Regions from separate parts of the Homo sapiens genome. Here region 1 is linked to region 2. The links are contacts of gene promoters, found by promoter capture Hi-C in human tissues and cell types (Jung and others, 2019). All regions are on one chromosome and are shown on one strand. The core of a region is centred on a gene start or on the middle of the fragment in contact, and the rest is flanking DNA. Distances in the headings are between cores, read along the strand shown. Region 1 overlaps NUSAP1 (nucleolar and spindle associated protein 1). Region 2 holds the start of ZFYVE19 (zinc finger FYVE-type containing 19).

Evidence for each region. The method cuts DNA at HindIII sites, captures the fragments that hold promoters and counts their contacts. A contact is called where the count stands out against the background at its distance.
Region 1: a fragment that was not itself captured here is called in contact with the fragment with the promoter of ZFYVE19 in region 2 in 1 of the 25 tissues and cell types used here (IMR-90 fibroblasts).

The regions. Positions count from the first base shown.
Region 1 is chr15:41,339,433-41,343,056 of GRCh38, reverse strand. NUSAP1 (nucleolar and spindle associated protein 1) reads right to left here. Exons shown (of 11, transcript NM_016359.5): 2 at 603-671. Among named protein-coding and RNA genes, the nearest start is that of NUSAP1, 8.4 kb to the right of the region's middle. The HindIII fragment of the contact is 4,302 bases long and covers 1-3,624 here.
Region 2 is chr15:40,805,317-40,809,304 of GRCh38, reverse strand. ZFYVE19 (zinc finger FYVE-type containing 19) reads right to left here and starts at 2,216. Exons shown (of 11, transcript NM_001077268.2): 1 at 1,437-2,216; 2 at 65-186. The coding sequence starts at 1,715. DNAJC17 (DnaJ heat shock protein family (Hsp40) member C17) reads left to right here and starts at 1,832. Exons shown (of 11, transcript NM_018163.3): 1 at 1,832-1,936. The coding sequence starts at 1,859. RefSeq lists enhancers at 1,184-1,233, 1,864-1,913, 1,954-2,003, 2,464-2,553. The HindIII fragment of the contact is 16,570 bases long and covers 1-3,988 here.

The sequences.
Region 1 (3,624 bases), core at 387-2,886, 530 kb before region 2:
TCCCTCTCTACTTAAATCATGCCATCTCTCGTAGTACTTGGCAACTAGTACTCAGCCTTTGTATCTGTGTAAAAACATGTTATTCAACAGATTACTTGGCGCAAAACAGTTTCACCATTCACAACAGCAGATAGTTAATCTGAAAGGATTCAGTCCTTGGCACTATTACCAATAATGATCTCTTTTTTAATAAACAGCATATCTTTTTTTTTGTTTTTTGAACGGAGTCTTGCTCTGTCACCCAGGCTGGAGTACAGTGGCGCGATCCTGGCTCACTGCAACCTCCACCTCCCGGGTTCAAGCAATTCTCCCTGTCTCAGCCTCCTGAGTAGCTGGGATTACAGGCTCCCGCCACCACATCTGGCTAATTTTTGTATTTTTAGTAGAGACGGGGTTTCACCATGTTGGCCAGGCTGGTCTCGAACTCCTGGACTCAAGTGATCCGCCTGCCACTGCCTACCAAAGTGCTAGGAGTATAGGCGTGAGCCACAACACCTGGCCAACAGCATGTCTTAAATCATCACTAGTTGTGTGTTAATTGCCCATTAACCAAATATGATTATTTTGCTAGCTAACAGGTAAACATGAAAAACATTACTCACCTGATTCTCATTTCCTTTTCTTGCCTCATGTTTAATGTAGCCTTTCAAGGCTTTTAACAACTTGGTTGCCTGCAAGAGAGACCTTATTATTAGAGCCAAAAGTCAAATAAACAAGGAAGATACGTTGAATATTTTTTGCTGTTCTTGTATTCATTAAATGTACTCTGGTCAGACCATAGGACTAGAACCATTACTTAGAAAGAATGGGTCTCTGCTCTAAGGAATTTCACATCTGAGTGGGAAAGTTAGACAAGGAAAGAGGCAATTGCAATACAGTGGGGTAAATGCCCACGCTAGGAGGCTCAGGCTGTCATGAGAACATAGGTAGGCATGGCCATCAAAGTTGGGACTGCTAGGTTAGACTTCAGCAAGTATCTGCACAGGGCAGTTCTCAGATAAAGATGTGATGTCTCTAATTGCTGAGATCTGAAGGATGAAGAGAAGGTAGAGAAAGAGGTAGAGGAATGGCACAGCAAGGCAACAATGAGGGTGGAGTTTGAAGAACTTAAGTTCAGTGTGGCTGGAACATGGACCTGTTTGTAGGAGATAGTAAGAGACAATGTTGGGAAAGTGAGCAGGGCCGTGATGTTACCAGGCCTTGTAAGCCTTTAAAGAGTATGAACTTTACTCTCAGAGAAAAGGGCAGTCTCTGAAGAGTTTGCAGCAAGGCAGTGGGTGACCAATTTTGCATTACTCAGAATGAGTAGTCTACCTGCACAATGTGCAAGATGCATTTGATGGGGATGAGCCAGAAATGCTGTGGCCTGAACTGGAGCGGGGCTAAGGCAGTATGGATGAAGTCAAAACCTTCTTAGGAAGTGAAATCAGTGTGAACATGAGAGTTGAGGAAGAGGGAAACTTTGTTATGCCAACGTTTCTGGCTTGGACAGCTGGTGAAGTGTGGTACGGTCCCTAAGATGAGGAATGCAAAAGGTGACGGGGTCTTAGGGGGATGGTTGTAGGTCTCTGCCGGGGGAAGGGAACACTGAGCTTCTCTTCCCAGCCTAGGAAAACCTCCCTTCTTGTTCTTTCCTGAAAGAACAATGTTAATTTGATTGGTTACATTTTCCTGTGCTTTAAAAGTCAAGTTTGGTTGAGCGGGGTGGCTCATGCCTGTAATTCCAGCACTTTGGGAGGCCGAGGCAGGTGGATCACGAGGTCAGGGGTTTTAGACCAGCCTGGCCAACATGGTGAAACCCCGTCTCTAATAAAAAAACAAAAATTAGCCGGGCATGGTGGTGTGTGCCTGTAGTCCCAGCTACTTGGGAGGCTGAGGCAGAAGAATTGCTTGAACCCAGGAGGCGAAGGTTGCAGTGAGCCGAGGAGATGATGCCACTGCACTCTAGTCTGGGCGATAGAGCAAGACTCCGTTTAAAAAACAAAAGTCAAGTTTTTTGGTTGGGTTCTTTTTTTCTTCCTCTTCCACCCAGCCATGCAGTTGAGGGCCACAGCCATCCTTCTCAAGGTGGGCCCAGCCACCAGGCTTGGCTCTATTCTTCTCATGCCTTTTATCATGGGCCATGTGTCCAGTAGAGAATAGCAGAGATCCTGAAATTTGGTTTGTGCTCAAGCTTTTGCTTGTGGTGCAAGCCTAAGCCACAGTCTCCAATCCACTTTACCAGAATGCTCTGCATCAAGATATCAGGCACTATTTCAGCTAGTAATAAAGTGGTACCTTATTTTCTACTTGTTCCTTGAACCACCCTTGAGGTTTTCTCTGGGAAGGGGATGATTGGCAGGGCAGAATTCAGGCATTCTTGATTTTTCTAATACTCTCTTAATATACCTTCAAAATCTCACCAAACATACAAAAATGCATGAAGTGAGGCACCTGTGGCAGAACCCAGTGAGGAGGTTGAATGATATGAGGTGGTGTTCAAGAGTTGTGCTGAAGGTGCAGATGTTAGTTATCAGCATATATTCATGCATTCCTTCAACAAGCATTTATTGTGCTGGGCACTGTTCCAGACACTAGAGAGTGATTAATTAAACAGACAAGGTGATTGCCCTCCAGGATCTTCTAGCAGAGGTGAAACAGTTACCCAAGAAAGCTAGAAATGAATGATATGACGTCAGGTATTATGATGCAAAAATAAAACTGGGCAACTGGGGTGGGGTGGGGATGCTACCTGAATTAGGATGGCTGGGAAAGGCCTCCCGAGATGTGAATGAGGAAAGAGGCAGCAGGTGAAGAGCACTCCGAGCAGAGCGAGCGCCAAGAACAGGAGCCCTGAGGTGGACTCATGAGTTGAAAGACAGAAACTGCCCTTATGGTAGAAGTATGGTGAACACTGAGGTATATGGAGGGCAGGGAGATCAGAGATGTGACCAGAGGCTGGGTCAAGTAGAGAGGTAAAGGCCACAGCAAAAATTATGAATTTCAGCCAGGTACAGTGACTAATGCCTGTAATCCTAGCACTTTGGGAGGCCGAGGCAGGAAGATCACCCAAAGTTAGGAGTTCAAGACCAGCCTGGCCAACAGGGTGAAACCCCATGTCTGCAAAAAATAGCTGGGCGTGGTGGTGGGCACCTGTAGTCTGAGCTACTCAGGAGGCTGAGGCGGGAGAATCACTTGAACCTGGGAGGTGGAGGTTGCAGTGAGCCGGAATCGCACCACTGCACTCCAGCCTGGGTGACAAGAGCGAAAGTCTGTCTCAAAAAAAATAAAAAAATAGAAAAAAAATTAATTTCTTCCCCTAAATTGTTATTAGAAAAAAAGTCAGGCCTATAGAAAAGTCAAAGTAGGCTGGGTGTGGTGGCTCACGCCTGTAATCCCAGCACTTTGGGAGGCCTGAGGCAGTCAGATCACCTGAGTTCAGGAGTTCCAGACCAGCCTGAACAATATGGAGAAACCCTGTCTCTACTAAAAATACAAAATTAGCTGGGCATGGTGGCACATGCCTGTAATCCCAGCTACTTGGGAGGCTGAGGCAAGAGAATTGCTTGAATCCAGGAGGTGGAGGTTGCAGTGAGCTGAGATCATGCCGTTGCATTCTAGCCTGGGCAACAACAGCGAAACTCC
Region 2 (3,988 bases), core at 967-3,466:
GTGAGGGCTGGCCAGATGCCCACTGCCATACTTGGCTGAACTTTCACCCATGCCTGCCTCTTACCTGGTCAGGACCTCATGGCATTGCTTGCAGACTTTCTGTTGGGTGTTCCCAGTCCGAGGCACTGCTGCACTGAAGCTTAGGCAGCCTGAACAGAAGGCCCTGCCACAATTCTTACAGCCGTACTACAAGAAACATGAAGCGGGAGATCCCCCTCTCACCCGCCCCTGCAGGCTGCTCCCAGGGACTCTCCAAGCACACACAGAGAGAAGTCACTGAAGTTATGACCAGCTGCTGGGAGGAAGAAGAGGAGTGGGGCCCCTAAGGCCTAGGGATGGTGAGTAAAGCAATTCCTCGGTTTCCAGTACCTTATTCAAGCCAAATGAAGGTTTATACAAAATTCCCATGCTTTCTACCCTGTCTTCAATTCCCTGACCCAGGGATGTAGAAGACAGATAGATAAAGCCCAGTATTTCAGGCCACTGACTCTTCCACAAAGGAGAATCAGAGAGACAGGGCAGAGCCGATGCCTCCTCTGCTCTTGCAGAGATGGAGGGAGGCTTGGCTCAGGATGGGCTAACAATAGCCTCCATTTATTAAGCACTTACTATGTGCCAGGCACTAAACCCAGTACTTAACATTCATCATGTGATTTATTCCTTACAATTTACACACATTATTTTACTTAATCTTGATGCCAACCGTGATTATCCTTATTTTGAGAGGGCCAGAGAGGTTACATAACTTATCCAAACCAAGGTCACCGCCTCAATAAGACAGCAGAGCTCAGATTTGAACGCTGACTCCAAAATCCAGGTTGGTGAATGCTGCACGGTCCTGCCTTCCTGCGTGACACTAATTTACTCCATCTAGTTCCCATCATCTCCTGGTCAGAATCCCTGGCCACAACTGAGGCAGAGGGAACCTGCAGTTTACCAGAGGAATCTGGCAGGTCTGTGATAGGGACAGGACAGTCAGCCTTCACCATGGTGCCCCGGAAGCAGGAGGAAGTGTGGTAATCTAACTCCAGCGACCTGGAGAAGGGCAGGCTGCGGGATGGGGAAGATTTCAGAGCAGAGGGAGTAACGGGCTTGGTGTGATGGACACCGCGCTTCGGAGGAGCAGGGTGGAGAGAAGAAAACCGCCAGATGCTACACTGGGCCGACAGAAAAGAGTAGCTTTGCAAAAACGACGGCAGCGCGCTTTACAGTTTATAGGGAACTCTCACCTAAAGCACTTCAGTGGACCCTCACATAAACCCTGAAAGCGAGAGAATGTTAGCCCCATTTTACAGAAATGGAAACTGAGGATCAATGACTTCATCAAAACCACACAGCTGGAAAGGAGCCGTAAGACCAAGTCTTTGGACGTTAAGTCCCGCGCTTTTCCCTCCTCTCCTCCCTGGCCCTGCAGCCCTCGGGGAGGGAAGACTCGCCTCCTTCTTGAAGAGGGTGAACTTGACAGCGCAGCCGTAGCACCTACTCTCCATGGTGGCTCCCAGCACCGCAGGGTCTGCAGAGCTGAGATCACGCCGGCCAAGTCCTGGGCCCCTTGGACCCTCACCCCAGCTCCGCCCTTCCCTTCCCTGCCCTGCCCCGCCCCACACGCCCACTGGCACTGTCCCGCCGCGACCTAGAGCAGGGAATCCGGACGCTCTCCTGCAGCCAGCGTACGGCAGCGGCGGCAACGGGGGCTGCTGGGAGTCGTAGTTCATTCACGACTGCCGGCCTCCCTCAGAGTCAGTCAAGCCTGACCCAGAACACAATTCCCAGAGGGCTAGGCGCCGCTCGGAGCCTGCAGTCCTCACGCGCGCTTAGACTCTTGGGAGTTGTAGTACGAATCCGTCAGGCCGGAACCATGGCAGTGACCAAGGAGCTCTTACAGATGGACCTGTACGCGCTGCTAGGCATTGAGGAGAAGGCAGCGGACAAAGAGGTGAGAACGGTGGCGAGGAAGGCTGATCTTGAGAGGTCTGGCGGTCCTTCCTGTCCTAGCGCCTCGGCCACTGCTGGCATCCGCTCTCCAGGTTCATTCGGGTCCTGGGCGGGGAGCGAGGGTCGGCGCTATGCCCTCCGCAGGCGGGCTCCCAGACATTTCCTGGACGGTCCGAGGGCCTCAAGAGGAAGCGGGGTACAGAGGGCTCTTCGCGCCGGGTGGCTGTGCTCTCCCCGTGGCCCCTGTCTCCTAGAGGCCGCGGGGCGAGGCAGCAAGGAACGCTAGCCTCCTCTGCGCCTGCGCAGTCTCGGCCTCCGTTTCCGCTTCTGCCTTGACTGTGACAAGAGGTGCCTCATTTCAGTCTCTTCTGCAGGCTGATTTAATTCTTCCACTAAGAGCCTAGAACGAAAGAAAAGTAAGATCTCAAAGCCTCTCCACTCCCTTTTCATGCCCCCTTGCCAATGTGACCGATGACCCTGCTGTCTCTATTTTCTTTTCCACTCAAGCCCATTGACTCTTTTCAAGTAGCTGATGCCCTTCTCAGCATGTGCTAGTTAGTGGGCTAAAAGCAGGAGGATCAGAAGGTTAAGGCAGATGGTATAGAGGTCCATGCTACCTTAGGTGGTGATAAAGATGCCAGGGAGTGAAACACTGATCAAGCTGGATTTAGGATTTCTTTTATCTCCCCCTGGATCATGGTGGTAGTTTTAACAATATACGAAGGAGAGGCGTTCATCAAATGAAAATTAGTGCCCAACTGAGCCGAGATCGCGCCACTGCACTCCATCCTGGGCGACAGAGCAAGACTCTTTCTCAAAAAAAGAAAGAAAGAAAGAAAATTAGTGTCTACTAGGCCGGGCGCGGTGGCTCACGCCTGTAATCTCAGCACTTTGGGAGGCCGAGGCGGGCGGATCATGTGGTCAGAAGTTCGAGACCAGCCTGACCAATATGCTGAAACCCCTTCTCTACTAAAAATACAAAAATTAGCCGGGCGTGGTGGCACACACCTGTAGTCCCAGCTACTTGGGAGGCTGAGGCAGGAGAATCACTGGAACCCGGGAGGCGGAGGTTGCAGTGAGCTGAGATTGCACCACTGCACTCCAGTCTGGGCGACAGAGCGAGACTGTCTCAAAAAAAAAAAAAAAAAAGGAAAAAAAAATAGTGCCCACTAATGTCCCAGTACTTCTGGGCTGCCCTGCTCATGGGGTGAGTGAGCTTTTGAGAAGAGGAAGCTCTGGGGCAGAAAATCAGAGAGACCCAGAGGGCCCTTGAGAAATGCTGTCAACCTGCACAAATCTGTCCCCTGCAGCCGCAGCTGAAATCAGAAATGGCCATGGGATGTCTATGAAGCATCAAAAGCATCTGCTCCACCTCTCTCGTGTTTCAATATTTTAGGATTAATAATTCCTAACATCTGTATAATGCTTACTATGTCCTAGACAGTATTTTTTTTTTCTGGATAGTATTCTAAGTGCTCTATGTTTACAAATTATTATTTTTTAAATTCTTTATTATTATTATTTTTTATTATTGTTTTTGAGACGGAGTCTCGCTCTGTGGCCCAGGCTGGAGTGCAGTGGCGCGATCTCGGCTTACTGCAACCTCCGCCTCTCGGGTTCACGCCATTCTCCTGCCTGAGCCTCTCCAAGTAGCTGGGACTACAGGCGCCTGCCACCATGCCCGGCTAATAATTTTTATTTTTAGTAGAGACGGGGTTTCACCGTGGTCTCGATCTCCTGACCTCGTGATCTGCCCACCTCAGCCTCCCAAAGTGCTGGGATTACAAGCGTGAGCCACCGTGCCCGGCCTATTATTATTTTTTGAGACGGAGTCTCGCTCTGTCGCCCAGGCTGGAGTGCAGTGGCGCAATCTCAGCTTACTGCAACTTCTGCCTCCCAGGTTCAAGCGATTCTCCTGCCTCAGCCTCCGGAGTAGCTGGGACTACAGGCATGTACCACCACGCCCGGCTAATTTTTTTTTTTTTTTTTTTTTTGAGACAGAGTATCACTCTTTGGCCCAGGCTGGAGTGCAGTGGCATGATCTCGGCTCACT